7 separate regions of the Homo sapiens genome follow, and regions 2, 3, 4, 5, 6 and 7 are each linked to region 1. The links are contacts of gene promoters, found by promoter capture Hi-C in blood cells and fetal thymus (Javierre and others, 2016). All regions are on one chromosome and are shown on one strand. Each heading gives the region's core, a stretch centred on a gene start or on the middle of the fragment in contact. The rest is flanking DNA. Distances are from core to core; before and after follow the strand shown.

Region 1 (3,607 bases), core at 758-3,257:
ACCTGAAGCTCCTGCTCCCTGAGCCCTAGGGACTGGCTCAGCTCTGGCAGCACTGAGAACAACGTCAGCTCTCCTGGTTTTCCTGGAAAGTAAGAAAGAAAAATTACAAGAGGCCAAAGCTTCATGCCTTCACTTTTCCCTCCCTCAGTCACGAAACCCCCTTCCGCTGCATTCCCTTCCCACATCCCCGGCCCATACCTGTCACTGGTAGACCCTGTGGCTTGTTCAACGTCACTAGAGGTCCTGAAACATACATCACACGAACATCAGCAAAAGCAACGGTAACCCTTTATGCAGCACTAAAGAGTTTCCAGAGCACTTTCTCACGCATCTTAGCACATGTCCCCATCATGACTCTCAGACATGAGTTAACTACCCCACACCAAATTCAACTTCTTTCTGTTCCTCTGCCACCTCAGAGCCTCGGCACTTGCTGTTTCCTGTCCCCAAATTTCCCAGGTCTGGCTCCCTATCATCTTGGCTCAAATGTCACATCACGGAGAGGTCTGAATCTCCAATCTAATGTCTGCCTTCCTCCTGCAGTTCCTCACCATCATAACACCCTGTTTTAGTTTATGCATAGCACTTACCACTAGTAACTTGTTCATTTATTTTCTGACATCCATTTCTCCCGTTAGAGAGAAATCCATTTCTCCCCTGAGAGCAGAAACCATATCTATCTTTTTCAGCACTGTATAGCCTGCCTAGAACAGTGCCTGGAACATAGCATATGTTCAAGAAATAGTTGAGAAAAGGAATAAATCACTGAATAGAGAGTGGGGTTCAGAGAAATTCAGTTATTTTCCTAAAGCCGCACAGCAAGCTGATCACAGAGCCTAGGTATGTCTGACTCCAAAGCCTGTGTTTTGTCCGTCGATAAATAATCATTATTTATTTATTTATTTATTTAGACTGAGTCTTGCTCTGTCATCCCAGGCTGGAGCGCAGTAGCACGATGTCGGCTCACTGCAACCTCTGCTATCCGGGTTCAAGTGACTCTCCTGCCTCAGCCTCCCGAGTAGCTGGGATTACAGGCGGACGCCGCCACACCTGGCTAATTTTTGTGTTTTTAGTAGAGACGGGGTTTCACCATGTTGGCCAGGCTAGTCTCGAACTCCTGACCTCAGGTGATCCGCCCGCGTCAGCACCCTAAAGTGCCGGGATTACAGGCGTGAGCCACCGCGGCCAATAAACAATAATCTAGTATAGCAACTCCCGTAACTGAGCGCCGGCTATGTGCAAGGCTCGGTAGTTATTTGCATCTTCTCCCCACTCTTAACCCTACTGCATCATGGCAGTAGGGTTAAAAGCGGGGAGAGGGTGCAAATTAGGTGGCTTGTCCCAGCTCATGCTGCTAGTGGGAGGCAGAAGCAGGGCTGATCCCGTGGCTTCAATGGAGAGCCCAACTGCACGCCGAGGCAGTCCCCTCCCGGTCCTTGTGCGGCCGTGCCTCTCACCCCTCACCTTTCCGGTCCACCACGGCTGCCCGCAGCGCATCAACCAGCTCCTCCCGACTGAGGTTTTTTGGCAGCAGCCCCGCGAAGGGCTGGTCCCCGAGGGGCCCCGACCGTTGGCAGGAGCCGCGGGGTTGCCTCTGATGCCTGGACAAGGAGGGAGAAGCAATGGGAGTCATTCCATCCCGAGGTGCCACCCATTCCTATCTCCGGACGCCTCTTCCCAAATCCTGCGGCCTCTGACAAATGCCTCACAATGTCTGGGCTGACCTCGAAAATTCAGGTACGACCGGTCCCATTCTACAGCGGAGGGCACCGAGGCTCAGAGAGGCCAACGGGGCTGTTTTCGGGTAACATCTACCTGATCCAGATCCCGCACGTGCCTTCCCCCTGCCCTAGCCTCCGTCCCGCATGAGAGAGGGGGTACTTAATCACCGGGCTTCGGTGCCAAAGCCTGCGTCCTCGGGCACTGGGCGGACACCCAGGCCCCGCCGCCAGCCACTCCAGAACCGGCCCAAAACACGGCGGCCGTCCATCTCCCGAGCCAGGACAGCGCGCATGTGCGTCCAGAGGGGCAGACCCGCGCTCCAGCCAGCGCGCTGATTGGTCAGCTGGAGTGTCAATCGGAATGGTGACCGGGCGGGACTCAGAGCCTGAGGAGGCGGGGCTTTTCCTCCGCCCAGGAAGGAAATGCAGAAATGCCTTCCTATGCTTTTAGGGAGAGCGCTGTAGCAGAAGAATTTGATCTGATCAAAAAACCTGTCTTAGCAAAAAACCTGAAGCCGCCTTTGCAAAAATTATATTACAAAATTATGACAGCGAAAGAGATCTGATCTAACCAACCCGCAGCTTGCCTTTAACCTCTAAACGGTCCTTGGTCATTCCTGGGCTTGGGCCAAGCTAACTTTGGGAGAAATTAGTTCGTAGTCTAAATGATAATTGCCCTTCCCCCGAACTAAACTGGCTTCATAGAGTTAATGAAAGGCCACCAGGTTAGGAGTAGTAGAGGGACCTGAATTCTGCTAAGGGTTAGAGGTAACTGATTACCAGCGGTTATTCCGGAGGTCACAGTGTTTGCAGCTTCCCCAGCTCACGATTGTCCAACCTGAGATTGGCCTTTGGAGATGTCTTTCCAGGCTTTTGCATTTCTGACGGCCGGATCACCCCACCCGGACCCTCAACTCTTGGCTCTACTAGTCCTGTGGCCCCTCGAAGTCAGGAGATCGAGACCATCCTGGCTAACACGGTGAAACCACGTCTCCACCAAAAATACAAAAAAATTAGCCGGGCGTGGTGGCGGGCGCCTGTAGTCCCAGCTACTCGGGAGGCTGAGGCAGGAGAATGGCGTGAACCCGGGAGGCGGAGTTTGCAGTGAGCCGAGATCGTGCCACTGCACTCCAGCCTGGGCGACGAGCGAGACTCCGTCTCAAAAAAAAAAAAAAAAGAAAAAAGAAAAAGAAAGTAGAAGAACACAGAAAAAAAAGAATAATATAATGACTGCCCACATTCCTACCATCAGAATTAGTCATTGTGAAACAATATATATATGTATAGGTTTCCTGTTTTTCTTGTTTAAGAAATGAAAGGGATAAAAGTAAATTCCCCTTTACTGCGTGCTTCCAGTTTTCACTCCCTCCCCAGTCTCCACTTTGAGTTTGGTGTGAACATTTTCCTAATGTGTTTTGGTTTTTGTTTTTTGGAGACAGAGTCTCGCTCTGTCACCCAGGCTAGAGTGCAGTGGCCCGATCTCGACTCACTGCAACTTCCACCTCCCGGGTTCAAGCGATTCCCCTGCCTTTGCCTCCTGAGTAGCTGGAATTACAGGTGCGGTGCCCGCCACCACACCCGGCTAATTTTTTGTATTTTAGTGACGGGGTTTCACCATGTCGCCCAGGCTGGTCTCGAACTCCTGAGCTCAGGCAATCCGCCCGCCTTGGCCTCCCAAAGTGCTAGGATTACAGACGTGAGCCACTGTGCCCGGCCACTAATGTGTTTTTTTGCTTGCTCTGTCATCCAGGCTGGAGTGCAGTGGCACAATCACAGCTCACTGCAGCCTCAACCTCCCAGGCTCAAACGATCCTCCCACTTCAGTCTCCTGAATAGCTGGGACTACAGGTGTGCACCACCATACCTAGCTTTTTTTTTTTTTTTTT
Region 2 (3,607 bases), core at 301-2,800, 480 kb after region 1:
CGATCATGGTATTCAAAATGTCTTTTGCACTGTACAAGTTTATGGAAAAAAGATCATATGCTGAAAAGTCTCAAAGCAAACTTTGTATTAAATACAAAAGTTCTTTTATGAAAAACGCTGAGACCCACAAAGTGCTTAGCAGTTAAGAGGCTGACATCCAATTAAATAAGCTCTTATTAAGTGGGATTACTAGTGCTGTTGTCTTGGGGAAAAAATAACCACCTTTTCTCACCTGTGATACTGTAGGGTTTCAGAATGGCTTTCTGTTTGGGAAAGCAAGACTTGCTGTTAAAAGGCTACAGTATATATTGTGACTACAGGAAGACAATTTGGTTTAAAATCACACTGAGTACATCTCAATATACACATCATAAGGTTCATTCGGATCTAAATAGTGCAGAGAAAAAGGCTATTCTTCTTCAAAAATAAAAATAAAAGCAGCAAGCCATACTGATCCTCATCCAATATGCCAACAGCTCAGATGCTGCCATTAATAAGGAAACAAACCTGTAAGTTACTAAATAAAAAAAAAAATCAACACAATACCATTTATAATATTTCAACACTACCTCAATCTCTGTACAGACAGTGCCAAAGAGAACCTATTTTTGAAATGCTCTTAGTAAACTCAAGCGAGTTTCATTGAGAGAAAAGTCTTCGAGCAGTGCTTTGCAGATCCTGGCATCCTTGGGCCGGATGGCCGTTAGTGTTGCAAACCCAGGAAGCCTTCTCTCCTCCTCTCCCTTCGTCTACGGAGCATGTTGTTAAACCCCTCAGGATGGCAACTCGGTAGCATTTGGCTTCTGCCTGAGCCTCTCACGGTAGTGACATTATTGAACGGAAATAGCAGGCAAAAATCAGAGCATGGCTATCATAAAACATCCAGGATGCAACCCAGGGGAAGTGTCTGTTGGGCCGAGCTGTTTTTATAGCATCTCAGCCACCAGTGTTCTTAAACCATACAAATAGCCAAAGACGTTATCTACAGGTTTGTAAACAAATTACATTCTTCTTTTAGGACATAAATAAGTTAAAATAGAGCAATTTAAGCGGAAACAAGGCAACATGCCGGCAAAGAAACTTTATATATCCATGTATATATATTTATATATATATATATATATCTACCTATCTATATGGACGTATACAGTCTCGGAAAAGTATACGTTGATATAGATACAAAGAAATGGATATAACCTTGTGAGTGTCTATGAAGTTCTTCGGTTCCATTGGTGCAAATCTACTAGGCGAGTTAAGCTCTGCAATTTCAAAAAGTTATTAAATTAATCTATACAACTGAGACCATGCTGTGCAAGCATTTCAAAAACTCACAGACCAGTGGATTGGATAAATAGTCTCAGAAAAGAGTCTGTTTGCAGTTCCCGCCTAAGAAAACAAACAAACAAACAAAAACCCCTCCCCAACCCCCAAAAACCAAACAAGGGGAGGATTGAAAGTGTACAGTACATTCATGCGGGGGACGTGGTGGCTGGGCGGGTGCATGGCTGGTCCATGTCTGGGTGGGAGCCAGGAAGGGCTTGTTTTGGGAAAACCGCTCACTCCCGTAAGCCCCCAGTGGAGATCCCGCCCCTTGCCTTGAAGTGAAAAAGAGTTCAAACAGCATCGCAGCCAGAGAAAGGGTCTGTGGGTGGAAACGTTGGTTTTCTCTCCAGTATTTGGTTTCCGATTGTTGCTCGTTGCTGCTTGGGTGAGTTGGGTGCCTGGATGGATGGGTGCCCGGAAAGCGGGTGGCAGCGGGGTCCATGAGGGCGGGCGGGCAGGCGAGAGGGTCCTCAGCTAAAGCGACGTCTCCAGGCTGTGGATGGGGCTCCCTGGACTTGAAGAGGTAGCTGATTTGCTTGTGTCGGTCGTCAGGTTGATCCCACTGTCGATGGCGCTGTTGTTCTTGTTGAGGGATGACGGCGGGCTCGAGTTCTGCTTGAGCGCGGCATCTTCTTCCAGGTCGGTGTCATCAATGAGGGGGATGTGGGGCTGGGAATCTTCGATCCGGAATTCAGGATGAGCCATGAAGTTATGGATGGAGGTTCGAGATTCAGGCTTTTCTAAACCTTCATAGAGAGAGCTACGGAACGCCTTCACGACGCGGATCTGCAAGGGAAGCACAGGGGTCAGGAGCACTGCCCAGGGACCACAGCCAGGCTCGGGGGGCTCACAGGAGGGGCGGGTGGGAGAAGGGTTAGGGCAAAGCAGGTGGCTGGAATCCATAGTCGCTGGGTGTTATTAGCATTGACAGGATGGGGGAGAGTGAAAAAGGGGGCTCAGGTTATAGGCATCCTTGAGCTGGTTTTTAAAAATCTCTTTGGTTTTGGTAGAAACTAGTGTTAGGACAGGAGGAATCACCAAGCACCATCAAAGAGATGATGGGGAACAGTGGTTAAAGGAAGCACAGTCGACTCCTGCGGGCACCCACACCTAGTGAGAGACTGAGCCTTGTTCACTTTAAAGCAGAGGTTCAACCATGCAGACAGGGAGGAGGACCAGGTGGGAATCAAGTAGGAAAGAGGAGAGGCTATTAAAAAAATTCATCTTAGGAAAACCACACACAGTTAAGAAACCATACAACATGGAACATGTTACGTGTCACAAACAGAAAAGGCACAGAAAGGAGAGACGGTTGGATGAGTTGGGATGAGAGAGACACATGAGGGCCAAACAGAACGGGAACATCAAACCAAAGGCAGCAAAGCAAACCAAAGCCAACCCAGGGCTTTCTGAGGTGCAGAGCAGAGGCAGCCAGAAAGCACATGGGAGCTGGCGGACAGATGACATTCGGGGGCGGGCTGCATGCCACGGGGAGGCCGGGAGCCACATGGCACACACAGACAGACACACGGCTACACTTGGAAGCCTGGACAATGTGAACGGAGGTCGTTTGTACCCAGCGTTTCTTTCCTTCATGCATTTGGGAGGTAAACACTCGAGTATAGACTCAAAGCCCTGGCCGGCCAGTTATTGGAGCTTGCTTTGGGGTCTCTTATTTCCTGGGGGATTTTGTTTATTTCTTTATTTGTGCTTTGAAAACACAAAACCAAAAAACGAGGCTGGAATCAGATGGCCAAACCCAGCCCCAGTGGGATTCTGGGGTGTGTGGAACTGAGTCACAAAACAGCAAGTTCTTTCATTTTCTGTCTCAGTTGTGAACCACACGTCCTGGGGCCTCAGTTTCCTCCGCTGAAGAATGGGAGGAGGCTGGTCATTGAGTCTTCAAGGCTAGTGGAAAGAGCACTGGACTTGGAGGCAGAAAGACCCAACTTGCATCCTGGCTCTGCCACATCTGGTGCCTTGACTGTGGACAAGCCACACTAGCTCTCTGGTTGTCCTCTGTCCTGCCTCACAGGGTGCAGAGGGACGGGACCCTCACTTGGAAGAGAGGTGTCCCTTCTCTGGACTCCTGGGAGGGGCAGCAGTGCCTGTCATCTCAAGAGTCTGATGGGACTTGGGACAAAGGTGCCTCCTCCTCTCGTCCCAGCCCCAACTCGGAGTGGAGTCAGAGGTGGAGAAAACAAGGCGGCGTTGGCGCCTCCAGGACAGAGCCTTAGTCGGCTGCTGTGTGCAGGCCAAGTGGCACCCACCTGCAGAGCAGTGG
Region 3 (3,607 bases), core at 629-3,128, 480 kb before region 1:
CATTACAGCCTCAACCTCCCCAGCTCAAGCTATTCTCCTGTCTCAGCCTCCCGAGTAGCTGGGACTACAGGTGAGTGTCACCATGCCTAGCTAATTTTTGTCATTTTTTTGTAGCGACAGAGTTTTGCCATGTTGCCAGAGCTAGTCTCAAACTCTGAGCTCAAGCGAGCCACTCACCTCAGCCTCCCAAAGCGCTGGGACTACAGGCATGAACCACCACTCCCAGCCCCTTTGCACATTTATAAATTGTGTTCTTTTTGGTTTTGTTTTGTTTTAAATTCGGTTTATCTTTTTGTTGTTGGGTTCCTTTCACAATAAGTTAACTTTTGTCAACTGAAAAATAAAAATAAAATTCTATGCCCCCCAACTGACTGAACAGGCCCTCTCTTGGCCAAGGAGACCCTAGAAAAAACTTGGAAGCTGAGTTCCTACTCATGACAGGATGGGAAGTCGGACACACCTCTTTATAACCCCTCCCTCTATAATCGCCATTAGATTTTCTTTCCTAAGGGTTAAACAGAAACCAGCCCTTTTGAAAGACTCACTCCACCAGCCTGATGCTGACCCTCCCATTTGCAGTTTCAATAGAACAACCGACTAGCATTCCTTCCTGATAAGAGATCACCCACCATCCAGGGAGTGGTTCTGGCCAGTCGACAGAGGACGTGCAGTGAGGGTTTTCACATCCCCTGCTTCACCTTTTGAAGTCAAGCGGTAGAAAACTCTACCCTTGGATCATGCTAAGGCCACCATTTTTTAAACATGGGATCCACAGAGAGGCATGAAGCTCAACTGCACATGCACAAATTGCTCCTTTCATAAATATTCGTGACCCCTCTTACAGTTTATTTAACATGTATATTTGGCCACTGTGTTTAGCATAAATCCCTGTCTTATTCTTCCAACCCTGGAAGTGCCTGTTTTTGGCTTCTGACTGGAAGCTAGGCTTCCCAGTCTGTCAAAATGGCTACCATGCAGGTTCAACTCTTTTTTTTTTTTTTTTTTTTTTTTTTTGAGATGATGTCTTGCTCCCAGACTGGAGTGCAGTGGCACAATCTTGGCTCTCTGCAACCTCTGCCTCCTGGGTAAGCAACTCTTCTGCTTCATCTTCCCAAGTAGCTAGGACTACAGGTGCAGGCCACCACATCCAGCTAACTTTTGTATTTTTAGTAGAGATGGAGTTTCACCATGTTGGCCAGCCTGGCCTCAAACTCCTGACCTCAAGTGATCCACCCGCCTCAGCCTCCCAAAGTGCTGGGATTACAGGCATGAGCCACTGTGCCCGGCCAGGTTCAACCCTTTATGAGAAATAAAGTTCATCTGATTGGGCACAGTGGCTCATGCCTGTAATCCCAGCACTTTAGGAGGGCTAGACAGAAGAATCACTTGAACCCAGATGTTCGAGACCAGCTTAGGCAACATAGTGAGCCCCACTATTTCTATTTTTTTTAAACTAAAGAAAAATATGAAGTAAACAGTGCTAAAATAGTGATGGCAATACAGAAATCAGGAACTAGTGGCATGACATTTTGAGAAAGATATTTAAATAAGCTGGAGAGACTCGGTGTCTCCAGCTTTAAAACAGAAATCAGTCTCTGCCACTTCATAGGTGCTAGAACAAAAGAGACTTGTTCCAAATGAGATGACGCATGTGAAGCGCTTACCCAGTGCTCGGCAAGGGGAAGCACTCTCTAAACGTTAGCAAATACCATGGTAGGACACAAGGCCCCTGACTCTCCGCTTTCAGCTTACTGAAGATCCTCAAAACCAACAGCACACAGCTTCCAGCGCATGCTCCTTTCCCCAAGACCTTGTGGGGGAACCCGCCGCCAGCGCGGAGCCACCGTGACTCGTAGCCTGACTTCCGTTTCCGGGGGCGGCTTCCGGCGGCGTGACCTGACCGCAAGAGGCCAATGGAGTGTGGGAGCTGAAAGGGTCTTCGCTGGCGGCCGGTAACTGGCGGCGGTTGGGAACGGCCGAGTGTGGCTCTTCTGGTGTTTCAGCTTGGGGAGAGAGGGGTGGCCTTCCTCTTGCAGTTGAGGCCGGCGCCGAGCCGGACTTCAGGCGGATCTCGTGGCGGAGCCCATCTTGCTCCCTCTCCCAGGCCTTTACCCGCTCCCTAGGATTCCCGGGCCCTGTAGGTGGGAGTTGGGAGACGTGAGTTCTCTTTCATTCTGCGCCTCTCATTGGCTCTCTGACCTTGTGCGGAACGCGTCCTTTAGCTGACCTCAGCTGCATTTTTTAGAAGATGGAGATTGTATTCACAGTGACTGTCAGCTTTTTAACGGCGGGAACTGACGTAGTGTTAAACACTGTCGTGTATCGCTGGCACAGCACAAGGACATTATAGGTATTCTGTACTCAATTAAGTTATTTTGAGTCACAGACCTTTTGAAAATCTCGTGTAAGCTATGGCCCCTCCACCTCTCTAATACTTCCCCCGGCCCCCACCCCAAGCACACACAAAAGCTTATGCATAGGAAATTTGTTTTACTATTTCGGATTACTTCCAAGATCTCTCTCCTGATGCCCATCTATGGATCCCAGAGTCTGGCAAGTAGTAGGCGTTTGAACATTTGTAATCATTAGATAGTAAGTATTCAGTTAACCATTTTTATTTTTAATTTTTTCTTTTTTTTTTTTTTTTTTTTTGAGACAGGGCCTCACTGTGTCACCCAGGCTGGAGTGCAGTCCTCCCACCTCAGCCTCCCAAGTAGCTGGACTCCAGGCGCCCACCACCACGCCCAGCTATTTTTTGTGTTTTTGGTAGAGATGAGATTTTGCCATCTTACGCAGATTGGTCTCGAACTCTTGGCCTCAAGCAATCTACTCACCTCAGCTCCCTAAAGTGCTGGGATTACAGGCATGAGCCAGTGTGCCCAGCCCAGTTAATCATTTTTAAATGCATGAAATGCTATTTCACAGGAGGGAAGAAGATAGATAGCCTATTAATAAGTTTTAATTATTGGCCTAACCAGGTACTACTCTCACTTGTCTCCTAACGACTCTAGGAAAGAGGTATTACTAATTACTTAATTACATTTGAAGGTTTGGGAGAATTAATTTGCCATAAGTCATTCAACCTATGATGGTGGAGGCAAGAATTCAAACCTGTATCTATCTGAAACTCCAAAAGCCCCATATTATTATTATTATTATTATTTATTTTATTTATTTATTTATTTTTTTGAGACAGAGTCTTGTTCTGTTACCCCAGCCGGAGTGCAGTGGCATGATCTCAGCTCACTGCAATCTCCACCTCCCGGATTCAAGCAATTCTCCTCCCTCAGCCTCCCAAGTAGCTGGGATTACAGGCTCCCACCACCACACCTGGCTAATGTTTGTATTTTTAGTAGAGACGGGGTTTCACCATGTGGGCCAGGCTGGTCTTGAACTCCTGACCTCAGGCAATCTGCCCGCCTCGGCCTCCCAAAGTGCTGGGATTACAGGTGTGAGCCACCACGCCCAGCCAAGCCCTATATTCTTAACTAACCATGTTCTTAACATCTAGATGCAGAAATGGATTTGAATGTGATCTGCAGTTTCTGTCGTAGTTATGAAATGGCTTTTGTCAACATGGGTTACCCCAAAGCAAACATTGCATGCT
Region 4 (3,607 bases), core at 420-2,919, 450 kb before region 1:
CCATCTCTAAAAAAATTTTTGGCTGGGTATGGTGGCTCACGCCTATTAACTCAACATTTTGAGAGGCCCAAAGCAAGATCACTCAGGGCTAGGAGTTGAAGACTAGCCTGAGCAACATGGCAAGATCCTGTCTCAAAATTCTTTTTAAAATTTTTTTAAAAGCCCAGGCTTGGTGGCGCATGCCTATAGTTCCAGCTACTCAGGAGGCTGAGGCAGAAGGATCTCTTGAACCCAGGAGTTTCAGGCTGTAGTTCACTATGATGGCAGCTGTGAATAGCCTGGGCAACACAGCAAGACCTCATCTCCAAAAAAAGACAAAAGAACTAAATTATTCTACTGCAGAACATGATTAGGTAAATATCTCCAAAGCAGAAAGACAGGTTTCATATTTTCGTTAGTTTGAGTCAGTCCTTCCAAATCAAATCTTGTTTTTTATTAGTATACAGATGGTATAGCCAGTAAGTAAATGAGAAGCAGTCTTTTTAAGCCGATCCATTCTTAAATGAAAAAATATATAAATATTTTAGAATAAATTTATTAAATTCTAAAGTTGTAGAATTTTTAAATTTGGATATTTTGGGAAAATATTTAAACCACTATTGCAAACAAAACAACAAAATGTACTTATGTTTATACTTAGGCACAAAGAAAACTACAGTATTTTAAAGTAACCATTACACAATATTGAGGTTGCAAAGATTACTGAAGGCATAACCTAAAAAATGAGTTGATTTCTAAAAATGGGAAAAAGGAAAAAAATAATTTCTAAAAACAAGTATGCATACCTAAACCTACCTAATGACACCTTAGAAAATTCAAGTATAGCACCATTCATTAACATCAATGAGGATGTCATCACACATCATGTAGCCTCTGCACACCGTGAGAATAAATGAAAAAGACAGGCATCTTGCTATCATGACAATAGTTTTGACCTCGCAGACCTCTCTGTGCTTACGCAACGGATAAAGCCATAAGAACTGTCCTGCCCTCAAGGAGCAACCTAAAGTAGGAAAAAAAAAACAAAATTACACAATTATTATTTACAATTGTGAGAAGAGCTCTTGACAACATTCAAATGGAGGATACAGTGTAGTAAGGGTGAGGGTATCAAGGCTTCCTTGAGAAGTGATGTTTTGAGGCCATTCTTTCTTCTCAATAACTGGTATTTGGTTCCTGAATCCTTTAACTTCCTTACCATTGTCACTCCTAAGCCAAATCTCATTACGTCATGTCTAGACTACTGTTAAGAGAACCACTTAAGTGGTCTCTGCAGCCCTCAATTTATTGGTGTTATCTATGGGAAAATTGCTCAAACTCTAAGCCTTAGTTTCCTACCCTATAAAATGGGGTTTTATATACAAGGAACATACTAAATACACAGGTATACCTCAGAAACACGGCAGGCTCAATTCCAGAGCACTACAATAAAGCGAATCTCATGAATTTGTTGGTTTCCCAGTGCATAAATTATGGTTACACTATACCATAGTCTATTAAGAAGTGTACAATAGCATTATGTATAATTGATAAATACATCACTGCTAAAAAAATGCTAACAATCTTTTTGCTGGTGGAGGGTCTTACGCCAACGTTAACGATGGCTACTGACTCATCAGGGTGGTGGTGGTTGAAGATTACGATAGCTGTGGCAATTTCTTAAAAGACAATGAAGTTTGCCACACTGACATCCTTTCACAAGACTTCTCTGTAGCATGTGATGCTGTTTGATAGCATGATAGCATTTTACCCACAGTAGAACTTTTTTTTCCTTTTCCTTTTTTTTTTTTTTTAAACGCAAGGTCTCACTCTGTCACCCAGGCTGGAGTGCAGGGGCGCCATCTCGGCTTACTGCAACCTCCTCCTCCCTGGTTCAAGAGATTCTCCTGCCTCAGCTTCCCAAGTAGCTGGGACTACAGGTGTGCACCACACCTGGCTAATTTGGTAGAGGTGGGGTTTCACCATGTTGGCAAGGCTGGTCTTGAACTCCTGACCTCAAATGATCTACCAGTCTCGGCCTCCTAAAGTACTGGGATTGCAGGTGTGAGCCACCACACCCAGCCAGTGGAACTTATTTCAAAATTGAAGTCAACTCTCTCACACCCTGGCACTGCTTTATCAACCAGGTTTCTGTAATTCCTAAATCCTTTATTGGCATTTTAACAATGTTCACAGCAACTTCACCAGTAGATTCCATCTCGAGAAACCACTTTCTTTGCTCATCCCTAAAAAGCAACTCCTCATCCATTCAAATTTGATCATGAGATTGCAGCAATTCAGTCACATCTTCAATGCTTTACTTCCAGTTCTAGTTCTCTTCCTGTTTCCACACCTGCAGTACACAAAAAGCATTCAATAACTATTACTTCATTTCTTCTACCTATGTTTCCATTAGCTTTTGCCTATAGTACGCACTAGAGTATGTTACCATTATTTGTTATAAGTAGTACCTCATTATTACACTATTCGTAAGCAATACCTCAAGGTCTAAGATTAGATTTTAAATCAAGGTCAGTAAAAATAGAAAAGGCTGTGAAGACTGTTGACTGACTTTACCAGAATCCATACACTAGAGGTGAGATTAGTTAGGTGATGAAATAACCATTCTATAAACATGATCTGAAACTCTGTTACTGTTGTCAGCAGGAAAAGCCAATGTTACATATGTTTAAAAAAGAAAAAAAAAACCCAAAACCAGAAAACAAAAGGTGACAAAGTATCAAGACAAAAGGTCACTGATGACTGATCTCTAGGAAAAGCTGGAAAGCAGGATTATTAAATGTAACCACGACTAAGATAAAAATCAGAGACAGAAAAGTCTTTGTCACCAAGAAGATATACTCCATGAGAGAGCAGAAACAATTCATCAGGTTTAACCCTGCTCTAGATAAAATAAAACTATCTGATTCAATACTCACACTTCTCTAATAATCCAATACATTATCCCATCTCAAGAAGAGAGAGTCACAGATAAGAAAAAAAAGGCTTCTTGAGAAGTATGTGCTCTAATATAAACTAATATGCCACTAAGAAAGCAACCTGCAAAGTCCAGTACCAGACTTCTGGATTTGTGACCTAACAAGGTGCTCTACAATTAACCTAACAGTCAAACCAGAGTGTTGTAAAAGAGAATTATGTAATTATGCCAAACCTCCACTCACAAAAAATATATGGAAGTAACCTAAGTTTACATTTTGCAAATCTCACACACACACTAGCCCTGACAAAAGTTTCACCAGCTTTCTCATCCAAGTACAAGCGTGTAATATACTTAATAAATTTGTCTTATAAGGGTAAGAAATAGTATGTAACTACTTGAAAAGGAGATAGGTAGCTGGTTAATTTAAACAAAAAGCCCAAGGAAGTAAGGTGCAGGAAAAGGATAACTGCAATGATTAGTACAGGAAACCCAAAGAAGAACTGAATGGTGGGATAGATGTACTCAGAGACCATGAGGCATCAGTTTCCTCTATGAATAGAATATTAGGAGATGTAGGTTAAATGGGACCCTGAAGTCTCTCCCAAAAAGCCTTGTTTATATGTTTTCTGAGCTTAACTATTACTTGAGAATCAATTTCACGTATAAACCAACAAAACTAACATTTAT
Region 5 (3,607 bases), core at 351-2,850, 410 kb after region 1:
TTTGTCAGTTTAAAAACCAAGTGTACAGTACTTGACTCATCTTGATGAATTACAAAACACCTCTTACCTTCCACCTTCATCTGTACCTCTTCCTCCCTTGCTCTGTGGTCATCTGTGAACTTATCTGTCCTGGTCCTAAGTCCTTCAGCAAGCACAGCCGAGGGGTACTCACAAAAATGGCATGTTCATCCTCAGGTCCTTCTAGAGTCCTCTCACTGCTCTCCTGTGTCTGCTCTGTAAACTTTTTTTTTTTGTTTGAGACAGGGTCTTGCTCTGTCACCCAGGCTGGAGTGCACTGGCATGATCATAGCTCACTGCATCTCAACCTCCTGGGCTCAAGCGATCCTCCTGCCTCAGCCTCCCAAGTAGGTGGAACTCAGGCGTGTGCCAACCTGCCTGGCTAATTTTTTTTTTTTTTTTTTTGAGACAGAATCTTGCTCTGTCACCCAGGCTGGAGTGCAGTGGTGCAATCTCGGCTCACTGCAAGCTCCGCCTCCCGGGTTCACGCCATTCTCCTTCCTCAGCCTCCCCAGCAGCTGGGACTACAGGTGCACGCCACCATGTCCGGCTAATTTTTTTGTATTTTTAGTAGAGATGGGGTTTCACCATGTTAGCCAGGATGGTCTCGATCTCTTGACCTCGTGATCCGCCTGCATAGGCCTCCCAAAGTGCTGGGATTACAGGCGTGAACCACCGCGCCTGGCCTGCCTGGCTAATTTTTTGTGTTTTGTAAAGACAAGAGTCTCCCTATGTTGACCAGGCTGGTCTCAATCTCCTGGGGTCAGGCAGTCCTCCCACCTTGGCCTCCCAAAGTGCTGGGATCACAGGCATGAGCTACTGTGCCTGGCCTTGCTCTGTAAACTTTGAGGGTTACACAGTTGACTTTGTTCCCTTCTCCCACCAGCCTTTAACACATCTTTCTCTGTGCCAGGTCACAGAATATTCTGAGGGGAAGGTGTTAGACTGGTCATTTTAGAATCGGTAGAGATCCCTGCTGGCTGACCTCACATCGTTCCCTTCTTACCTCCAGGACAGTTGGAGATGTTTCATGTTAGCTGATGATCTTCATTTACTCTTCACAGAGGAGACTAACTGTGTGACGAGCACCTTCATGTAGTAAAGATTATTTTTACTATGACATCTAAATGTCTACATTCAATTTAGAGTTGAAAGAATGGAAGGGAAAATTTGAGCATGTATGATAAGGCTTGGTCAACTATGATTCTCGATGTTTGATCTATAGACTATCACATAATCCCAAAAGTGTCGTGAAGTAGGTGGTATTATCTCCACATATCCATTAGTAAATACCTTCATATCAATTAACAAATATTTAAGCACCTACTCTGTGTAGGCACTGGGCAGATGAGATTCAGAAAGGTTAAATAAGCTGACCAAGGCCATGCAGCTGGTAAATGGCCGAGCTGTGGGGTAATATCAGATTAGTCCAACTTCAAAGCCAGTGTTCTCTGCACTGCTGCCTCTGGGAGCACCTGCTCTGTTCTAGCCTGGCATCAGATGTAGGGGTGGCAAGACGAAGGTGCCAGGGTCCCTCCCTTGCGGAGCTCTCTGCAGGGTGAGTTAGCCCAGGCACAGTAAAGCACTGGGTATTGAGGCTCTTGAGTGATAGAGCTTTTGCACATCCCCTTTCCTGCATCTCCACTTGGCACATGTCTAGTGCACACGTGGAACACCAGGCTTGGGGCTGTTGTTGCCAAGGACAATCGGGCCATGCTTCACAGACTGAGAAGTCACTCACCACGGGGCAGTGAGTGGAGAGCTGTAACAGGGATGGGTTTGGAGTACCCAAGGGTCAGGGGAATGAGCGACTGACCATCAGGAAGGTCCTCACAGAAGAGGTGACATCTGAGTCTTACTGATGGACAAGGAGGGGGACAGGACATTTCGGGCATAGGGAGCAATACATGCCCAAAATGTCAGGAAATGCTGCTTGTCTGGAGTGCTTGGGGCACTGCTGGCCCTCCCTTCTCTCATCCGTGCTCTCCTGCGTTCCCTGGACACTTGCGTGTTTGGAGGAAGGCAGGAGATGAGGCTAGACAGGAAGGCTGGGGCCAGTCTGTGAAGGGTTCCTGATGAGCTCAGGGGTAGGGATTATTCTGTAGGCAAATGTGGAGCCCTGGAAGGGTTCTAAACTAAGGCTGAAGTGGTGGGGTTTGCATTTTAGAGCTCCTCTGGCACGCTGCAGAGAAAGGGTAGGAGGGAGAAGACAGGGAGCTGGTGAGGAGCTGTTGAAATCCTTCAGGCTACTGGTGATAGGGCTGGAGCAACATCTCCACTTATCTTTCCTTCTTTCCTTTGGAGATGCACAGTTCACCAAGCAGTGCTTCCAGGAAGAACGAACTCTCCCCTTTATGAAGTCAGGTGGTTTGTCTCTTACCTTCTGCCCATGGTCTACCTACTTCTTACCTTTAGAGCCAACTGTCACCTGCTGAAACTCATCCTCGGTGTCGTTGATCCATCTTAGGTCCTCCAGCCTAGGAGAGTGTTTCTCACTTTCTCTCTTTTTTTCCCCCTTCCCCCTTCCTCCTTCCCACTTCCCACTCCCCCTCCCCCTCCCCCTCCCTCCTTTCCTGTCTGTCACCCAGGCTGAAGTGCAGTGGTGCAATTGGCTCACTGCATCCTTGACCTCCTGGCTCAGGTGATCTTCCTGCCTCAGCCTCCCAAGTAGCTGGGACTACAGGCGTGCACCACCATGCCCAGCTAATTTTTCTGTATTTTTTGTAGAGAGGGGTTTTTTTGCCATGTTGCCCAGGCTGGTGTTGAACTTGTGGGCTCGAGTGATCTGCCTGCCTCAGCCTCCCAAAGTTCTGAGATTATAGGCAGGAGCCACCATGCCCAGCCAACAGTGTTTCTCACTTTCATATTTCATTACTCCTTTCCCTTGGCTTCCAGGATGTTAGGGAGAACTTGAGTTTGAATCCCGGTTCTGCCACTTACAAGCCATGTAGCAGTTTCACTTTCTGTAAAAGAAGTATGACGGCTGTAGCACTTCTGTAAATTGTAAATCTGTATGAAAATATAAGGTATATTATTATACTCCTAATTTTTTTTTTTCTCCCCCAACTCCAGTCTTGGTCTTCACAACCAGAGGTGGCAAAACTGCTGGTCTGTGGACTGGATGTAGCCTGCTAGGTCCTTAACAGTATTTACATTTTGAGACAATTCACATTAAGAATTTATGACTCCAGGCTGGGTGCGGTGGCTCATGCCTGTAATCCCAGCACTTTGGGAGGCTCAGGTGGGCTGATCACTTGAGGCTGGGAGTTTAAAACCAGCTTGGCCAACATGGAGAAACCTCGTCTCTACCAAAAATACGAAATGTAGCTGGGTGTGGTAGCACATGCCTGTAATCCCAACTACTCAGGAGGCTGAGGCAGGAGAATCACTTGAACCTGAGAGGCGGAGGTTGTAAGTGAGCTGAGATGGCGCCACTGTACTCCGGCCTGGGCGACAGAGTGAGACTGTCTCAGAAAATAGAATTTATGACTCCAGTCTAAGTCCCTACCTTGAACTGAAGAATTGAATGACATCACCTCCCCATTTTATGTCCTCTTTTCTTATTTTGTTTTTCTCCTTGGCAGTTATC
Region 6 (3,607 bases), core at 581-3,080, 370 kb after region 1:
CTGGAAGGCAGGCTTGGTAGCTAGTTCACCTCTGTGTCTTTTTCTGCTCTTTGAGTAGGAGGTGAGATAGTGCAGGGCCTAGAAGTCAAACAGATTTCCGTCTGAATTTCGGCTCTACCATCTACTGGCTGGGTGGTCCTGAGCACTGCGTCTACCTCCGGTGTCTCCGTGTCTCCACTTGCCAACTGGGATGATAAACAGGCCCCAGGTTGTAGGGGAGTCAGAGGCTTATCCTGAGGTGATGCTTGAGGAGTGTGTTGGTTGGCACATGGTGGGTGTCAGGAATTGGCAGCAACAAGTGTTTGGGGAGTGAACAGGAGACTGGCATAGTCTGAGGACTAGACCAGGATCCCTCCTGTCTTCCTCCCCGAGGCTGCATCCTGACCCATAGTCCCTCCTTTCCAGGGTCCTCTCCAGCCAGAGCCCACCAGCCGGCCTTTCTCCAGCCTCCTGAAGAAGATGCCCCTCATTCCTTGAGAAGCGACCTCCCCACTTCGTCTGATTCAAAGGTAAATCCACCCCTCGGCTGCAGCCCCCAAGCCATGTCTCCCAGCGTGTAGTTCCCTCTCAAAAATGCAATTTCTCTACCCCTTGAGACCAGTTTAAGGGTGGAGAGGAGAAAGGAAATTGCCATCAAATTACCCCAAGCTTCTAAGACTGTAAGTAGAGGAGGTCAATAATAGCGGGGAGAGGGAGGGAGGGCACTTCAGTGAATATACTTCTTGTTTTTTAATTTGTTATTATTATTATTTTTGAGACAGAGTCTCGCTCTGCCACCCAGGCTGGAGTGCAGTGGCACGATCTCGGGTCACTGCAACCTCCGCTTCCCGGGTTCAAGTGATTCTCCTGCCTCAGCCTCCCAAGTAGCTGGGATTACAGGTGCATGTCACCATGCTCGGCTAATTTTTTGTATTTTTAGTAGAGACGGGGTCTCACCATGTTGGCCAGCTTGGTCTCGAACTCCTGACGTCAGGTGATCCACCTGCCTCCGCCTCCCAAAGTGCTTGGATTACAGGCATGAGCCACTGCACCCGGCCATTATTTTCTTTTATTATTTTATTTTATTTTCGACCTGTGGTCTCAGCTACTTGGGAGGCTGAGGCGGGAGGATGGCTTCAGCCCAGGAGGCAGAAGTTGCAGTGAGCTGTGATCCTACCACCACATTCCACCCTGGGTGACAGAGTGAGACCCTGTCTCCAAAAATGTATGACCATATTGGTACGAAGATAAATAAAATCCAAGCAGGATTAAAAATGAGGACATTTCTTTGACTCTAAAAGTCCATTTATTTTCTTCTGATTTTAAAATAAATTAAAATGTTCTGATGGCCCCTAAAAGTGTTGTGAGCCTAGACCCTTTGCATCCAGTGCCTGGGGGAGAAGCCAGCTTTGCATGAGTGTGGTTAATGAAGCTCTTCCATGTCCCAGGTGTGGTGTCACATGCCTGTAGTCCTGGCTATTTGGGAGGCTGAGGTGGGAGGATCGCTTGAGCCCAGGAGTTGGAGACCAGCCTAGGCAACACAGGGAGGCCCCATCTCTAAATTAATAAATAGATCAACCTTCCATGAAGGATAAACCCAACACTTTGGGAGGTTGGTATGGGAGGTTCACTTGAGCCCAGTACTTTGAGACCAACCTGGGCAACAGTGTGAGATCCTGTGTCTACAAAAAAGTTTTTTTTGTTTTTGTGTTTTTTTTGAGGAGTCTCGCTCCATTGCCCAGGCTGGAGTGCAGTGGCACGATCTTGGTCACTGTAACCTCTGCCTCCCAGGTTCAAGCTATTCTCCTGCCTCAGCCTCCTGAGTAGCTGGGATTACATGCACATGCCAGCATGTTTGGCTAATTTTTTTTTGTATTTTTAGTGGAGACAGGGTTTCGCCATGTTGGCCAGGCTGGTCTTGAACTCCTGGCCTCATGTGATCCGCCCACCTCAGCATCCCAAAGTGCTGGGATTACAGGCATGAGCCACCGTGCCTGGCCAAAAAGTTTTTTTGAGACAAAGTCTCCCTCTGTTGCCCAGGCTGTCTCGACTCACTGAAACCTCTGGTTCCCCAGTTTAAGCGATTCTCCTGCCTCAGCCTCCTGAGTATCCGGGATTATAGGTGTGTGCCACCACGCCTGGCTAATTTTTGTATTTTTAGTAGAGACACGGTTTCACCATATTGCCCAGGCTGGTCTTGAACTCCTGGCCTCAGAGGATCCGCCTGCCTTGGCCTCCCACATATGGTGAGATTACAAGCAGTGAATCACTGTGCCTGGCCTCGCCAAAAAAAAAAGTTTAAAAAATAAGCCAGGCGTGGTGGCACACACCTGTAGTCCCAGCTACTTGGGGGCGCTGAGATGAAAGGATCCCTTGAGCCTGGGAGGTTGAGGCTGCGGTGAGCTGACATCATGCCATTGCACTCCAGCCTTGGTGTCAAAGTGAGACCCTGTCTCAAAAAGAAATCAAAACTATGTGTGTGGCATGATACCAGTTTTGTTAAATAAATCCTAGTATATCTAATTGGCCGGAAATACACTAACTTTAATAGCAGTTAAATGGATAATGGGGTTATGGATACTAATTTTCAAAAACTGTTAAGAGCATATGTAACTTAAAAAAATTGAAATTTAGGCCGGGCGCGGTGGCTCGTGCCTGTAATCCCAGCACTTTGGGAGGCCAAGTCGGGCGGATCACGAGGTCAGGAGATGGAGACCATCCTGGCTAACACGGTGAGGCCTCATCTCTACTAAAAAAATTACAAAAAATTAGCCGGACAGGGTGGTGGGTGCCTGTAGTCCCAGCTGCTCGGGAGACTGAGGAAGGAGAATGGCGTGAACCTGGGAGGCGGAGCTTGCAGTGAGCCGAGATCACACCACTGCACTCCAGCCTGGGTGACAGTACGAGACTCTGTCTCAAAAAAAAAAAAAAAATTACGTACATGTGTTTTAAAGAGAGAAGTTATTAAAAACGGAAACAGAACTTCTTTTTATAGGCTTATATACACATGCAGTCTCTGGAATTCTGTTTAAAGCAAGCTTGTCTTACTTGCCCATGGTTGTGTGCAGCCCAGGATGGCTTTGAATGTGGCCCAACACAAATTTGTAAAGTTTCTTAAAACATTATGAGTTTTTTTTGCAATTTTTTTTTTAAAGCTCATCAGCTATCATTAGTATTAGTGTATTTTATGTGTGGCCCAAGACAATTCTTCTTCCAGTGTGGTCCAGGGAAGTCAAAAATTGGACACCCCTGGTTTGGTTATATGAACCTGTATCCTACTTCCCAGGAGTCTGGAACCCCAGTATCTATGCTGTGAATTAGACCAAGAGTGCTGAGCTCGGCCACTGACCAGCTGTGGGACCTCACTTCAGCTGTTTTATTTCCTCAGTGCTTACTTCTGTAAACTGAAATAAAGGAAACATCAACCATGTGCCAGGAATACTCACATCTTAGTCTTCAAAATTACTCTTCGGGGTACTATTGTTACCTTCATTTTTGCTGATGGAAAAAATTGAGGCTCAGAGAGGTTAAGTAACTCACCCAAGGTCACAGAGCAAGATACAGATGGAGCTGGGATTTGAGCTTGGGCCTATCCATGTCCTTTTTTTTTTTTTTTTTTTGAGACAGA
Region 7 (3,607 bases), core at 494-2,993, 350 kb after region 1:
AATGATGGTAGCTTAGATCTGCTGGGTGTTAATTTTTTTATCCTCATGGCTGGTCTCGGGTCGGGGGTCCACTTCCACATCTCATTTGTCGGATGAGGAAGCCAAGGCTTAGGAGGATCCCCCTGCTGGTGAGCCTGACTGCAGGACACACTCCAGACTGCGGGAGTTCATTTGCCTTCCGTGGCATCAGTGATTCATGCTCATTAGGAAGAGCACAGGCATTCCGAAAACAAATCAGAGAGAAAAAGAAATCATGCCTGGCAACCAGCTCTGGTGAACCATGACAGGGGCACAGAGAAGCGCTTCTGCCCCTCCCCCATTTCCTCCTTGTATCTGGGACTCAGCCCTCATCACTGTGGGTTCTCAGCCTCAGCAAGGCAGCTTTCACGGATATCCAGATTCCAGGCTGGGTGCAGTGGCTCACACCTGTAATCCCAGAACTTTGGGAGGCCAAGGCAGGTAGATTGCTTGAGCCCAGGAGTTTGAGATCAGCTTGCGCAATATGGCAAAACCCTGTCTCTACCAAAAAAAAACAAAAACAAAAACAAAAACAAAATTAGCCTGGCGTGGTGGCGTGCTCCTGTGGTCTCAGCTACTTGGGAGGCTGAGGTGGGAGGATTGCTTGAACTTGGGAGGTAGAGGCTGCAGTGAGCTATGGTTGCACCAGTGCACTCTAGCCTGGGTCACAGAGCAAGACTCTGCCTCAAAAACAAAAACAAAAAATCCAGACTCTGTCTGAGAACTGCCGTGTCAACCTTCTGGTGCCTGTGGCCACCTAAGCTATAGATTAGCTGTTCCTTCCGTCACCTGCGTCCCCTTCCTATCCCTGGGGGTCCCAGCAGGGAGAACCCTGGGCTGCCCACCTCCAGTGTGTGACTGAGGCTGGCTGCCAATGGCGTGGGCACAGGCCCCCACCTCCCCTGCTGCTGGGCTCCTATGTTACTTTGCTCTCATGGCCACTGTACCTCTCGGGACTGTGCACCAAGTTGCTGCCCACCTAGAATCGGTTTCCATTAGAGTGTTTAAAATGTTAAAAATAGCCTTCCACCCTAAATGCTTCCTTCGGAGGCCCGAGTTGGGAATCAGAGGTTCTTTTCTATCTGCACCTTTCTGGCAGAACTGAAGGAGGGTGGCTGTTTGCACAGTGTTGTGGGCCCCTGCCCTGGGCCAGCCACTTCACATTTGTCATCATGGAGCCCTGGGACGGCCCTGGGAGGTGTGGGGTTATTATTCTGATTCCACAGGAGAGGCGCATGAAGCTCAGAGGGTTAGGAGGTCTGTGCCTGGGCGTGAAGCTGGAATCGCAGAGCTTGGGTCTGGCTCAAGCCAGAGCCGACGCTTCCCCACGCTTACTCTTGTGATCCTAGTTCTACTCTTTGATCACAGTCTGTGTTTTTGGATCTCATGATCCTGCAGAATCAACTTTATGTGTGGAATTCTCTTGAGAATTTAATCCTGGGAGGAAAGAGTGCTGTCTTGGAAGCCTGAGGCTGCCCCTGTCTATCTGTGATAAGAAGTCCGTGAGCAGCTCACTCCTGAGCCTTGGCCTTGGCAGATAGGAAGCTCAGTGCGAGAGTTAAAGCTTGTCACAGCCCTTTCTTGTAGGCATTTGGCCTCCTTTGCCTCATCCTGCCTTTGGTGTTCTATTTTTATTTCACTAGCTCTCTGGTGTGCCAGCCTGAATGAGTGGGCGTTGCGTCTTTCTAGCTAGCAGGGAGCAGGTTTGGAGGGATGAGGACAGAGGCCATTTTCTCCATCTTCATGTTTGGACAGTGGGACAGGCATGCATGGGCCTGCCTGTCCACCCAGCTCAGACCATGCCGGCAGCTCCAGGGTGGAGATGAGGGCGGTTCATGTTTATACGCACCATTTATTGCTTGCATTTTAAAGACATCTAAAAACTCAAAGCTTGAGAAGATGGGGGTTTCACAGGAAACCAGAACTTCTTGTTGGGGCTGACATGGGGCTCTGTTGGCTTACATCCGTGGCTGGTGTGACCTGGTGCCTCTTGTGTGGGAGGGTGGATGTTAGCCCCAAGTGTGCTGACAGGTCTGGTCACAGGTAGCCCTGCCGACACCGCCCCTCCCCATCTGTTCCTCACTCCTGCTCACTTCCAAATGCCCTGTGGTGCCAGGTGGGGCCACCGCATGTCACTGCAGAAGGAACAAGAAAAAGAAAGAGAAAAGCTGGACTCTCTTTAGGATGAAAACATAATGACATTTTTTATCTTCCCCACGGGTGGAGCCCACAGAGGTCGGCCACAAATGGGTTGGTGGCCTTGATGTTCCTGCCAAATGTGTTTTGACAGAGAGGCAAAGATTTGTGCTGAACAAAACATTACCCTGAATAGGACACTGGACTGGGAGCAGTGGCTCAGGCCTGTAATCCCAGCACTTTGGGAGGACAAGGTGGGAGGATCACTGGGGCCTAGGAGTTTGAGCCCAGGCTGGGCAACATAGTGAGATGCTGTCTCTACACAAAATTAAAAATTAGCTGGGCGTGGTGTTGCCTGTAATCCCAGCGGCATGGGAGGCTAAGAGAGGAGGATAGCTTGAGCTCAGGAGTTTGAGGCTGCAGTGAGCTGTGATCACACCACTGCATAGCCTGGGTGACAGAGCAACACCCTGTCTCAAAAAAAAAAAAAAGGAACAGGACACTGAAGTTAAGTAAGGCTGTAAGTATCACCCTCATCCCCGTTTTACTGTGATGAGAACAATGAGGCTCAGCCAGGCAGGCCTCCGACAAGGAGAAGGTGCCTCATTTGCTGGGATCATGGGCGGTTCTGGGTGTAGGTGAGACCTTTAGGGAGCATTTTATACTGTTGCGGGCCTGGCCTCTGCAGGAGGTCACTGTTGGGAAGTGACTTCAGCGAGCCCAGCCGGCCCTGAGCCAGGGGAGCCACTGCTGCCCTTTTGACACAGATGTCACAAGGATGACAAGCCTTTCCAGGAGCATAAGCCCCACTTGAGGCAGTTTGAGGAGGGAGGGTGGAGGGAGAGAGGCAGTCTCTCCCTGCCAGAGAGGGGAGGCTGGGAAAGATGAGGACTGGGAGTGGCGGGGGGTAGCCTTCCAAGGGAGCACAGGCAGAGCTTTCACTTCTGTGCACCCTGGGAGCGACAGCTCTGTTCCAGACCCGTGCTTGAATCAGCACTCACCCCGACATTGTTCATTGTCATTCTGTACAAGGGACTGGTTTTCTGTTGTTGTTGTTTTTTGAGACAGAGTCTTGCTCTATTGCCCAGGCTGGAGTGCAGTGGCACAATCTTAGCACACTGCAGCCTCCGCCTCCCAGGTTCAAGCGATTCTCCTGCTTCAGCCTCCTGAGTAGCTGGGACTACAGGTGTGCACCACCACGCCTGGCTAATTTTTGTATTTTTAGTAGAGACGGGGTTTCGCCATGTTGGCCAGGCTGGTCCAGAACTCCTGACCACAGGTGATCTGCCCTCCTTGGCCTCCCAAAGTGCTGGGATTATAGGTGTGAACCACTGTGCCCGGCCTAGGGACTGTTTATTCTCCTCCTGGGCCTGTGGAAGGCAGTGGGATGCCATGAGGCAGACAGTGATCCTGTGATTCCTGCAGGCAAGGCCCTTGTTGGAGAGAAACTGGC

Evidence for each region. Contacts are between HindIII fragments. The CHiCAGO score rates a contact against its expected background, and 5 or more counts as called.
Region 2: a fragment that was not itself captured here is called in contact with the fragment with the promoter of RPUSD3 in region 1 in 5 of 17 cell types (naive CD8 T cells, naive CD4 T cells, activated CD4 T cells and 2 more); the score reaches 6.7 in naive CD8 T cells.
Region 3: a contact is called between the fragment with the promoter of THUMPD3 here and the fragment with the promoter of RPUSD3 in region 1, in 1 of 17 cell types (fetal thymus). The highest score is 5.4, in fetal thymus.
Region 4: a fragment that was not itself captured here is called in contact with the fragment with the promoter of RPUSD3 in region 1 in 1 of 17 cell types (neutrophils); the score reaches 5.5 in neutrophils.
Region 5: a fragment that was not itself captured here is called in contact with the fragment with the promoter of RPUSD3 in region 1 in 8 of 17 cell types (total CD8 T cells, fetal thymus, activated CD4 T cells and 5 more); the score reaches 13.4 in total CD8 T cells.
Region 6: a fragment that was not itself captured here is called in contact with the fragment with the promoter of RPUSD3 in region 1 in 1 of 17 cell types (M2 macrophages); the score reaches 5.4 in M2 macrophages.
Region 7: a contact is called between a fragment that was not itself captured here and the fragment with the promoter of RPUSD3 in region 1, in 1 of 17 cell types (total CD8 T cells). The highest score is 5.5, in total CD8 T cells.

The regions. Positions count from the first base shown.
Region 1 is chr3:9,842,001-9,845,607 of GRCh38, forward strand. RPUSD3 (RNA pseudouridine synthase D3) reads right to left here and starts at 2,008. Exons shown (of 9, transcript NM_173659.5): 1 at 1,890-2,008; 2 at 1,465-1,601; 3 at 199-243; 4 at 1-82. The coding sequence starts at 1,990. RefSeq lists an enhancer at 1,871-1,950. The HindIII fragment of the contact is 7,859 bases long and covers 118-3,607 here.
Region 2 is chr3:10,327,017-10,330,623 of GRCh38, forward strand. ATP2B2 (ATPase plasma membrane Ca2+ transporting 2) reads right to left here. Exons shown (of 23, transcript NM_001001331.4): 23 at 1-2,109. The coding sequence ends at 1,798. It overlaps MIR378B (microRNA 378b), which reads left to right and starts at 3,213; the gene lies at 3,213-3,269. RefSeq lists an enhancer at 1,268-1,816. The HindIII fragment of the contact is 4,701 bases long and covers 1-3,607 here.
Region 3 is chr3:9,361,176-9,364,782 of GRCh38, forward strand. THUMPD3 (THUMP domain 3 tRNA guanosine methyltransferase) reads left to right here and starts at 1,879. Exons shown (of 10, transcript NM_001114092.2): 1 at 1,879-1,952. It also overlaps a transcript of SRGAP3 not described here. RefSeq lists enhancers at 1,609-1,818, 2,039-2,098, 2,169-2,248, 2,269-2,328. The HindIII fragment of the contact is 4,632 bases long and covers 1-2,467 here.
Region 4 is chr3:9,389,495-9,393,101 of GRCh38, forward strand. THUMPD3-AS1 (THUMPD3 antisense RNA 1) reads right to left here. Exons shown (of 4, transcript NR_132781.1): 2 at 796-1,003. Among named protein-coding and RNA genes, the nearest start is that of THUMPD3-AS1, 5.3 kb to the right of the region's middle. The HindIII fragment of the contact is 4,963 bases long and covers 1-3,607 here.
Region 5 is chr3:10,252,452-10,256,058 of GRCh38, forward strand. The region is part of intron 2 of TATDN2 (TatD DNase domain containing 2); the gene reads left to right. Among named protein-coding and RNA genes, the nearest start is that of TATDN2, 5.8 kb to the left of the region's middle. The HindIII fragment of the contact is 8,400 bases long and covers 1-3,607 here.
Region 6 is chr3:10,209,184-10,212,790 of GRCh38, forward strand. IRAK2 (interleukin 1 receptor associated kinase 2) reads left to right here. Exons shown (of 13, transcript NM_001570.4): 4 at 406-509. Among named protein-coding and RNA genes, the nearest start is that of TATDN2, 37 kb to the right of the region's middle. The HindIII fragment of the contact is 2,369 bases long and covers 647-3,015 here.
Region 7 is chr3:10,192,918-10,196,524 of GRCh38, forward strand. The region is part of intron 2 of IRAK2 (interleukin 1 receptor associated kinase 2); the gene reads left to right. Among named protein-coding and RNA genes, the nearest start is that of IRAK2, 30 kb to the left of the region's middle. The HindIII fragment of the contact is 326 bases long and covers 1,581-1,906 here.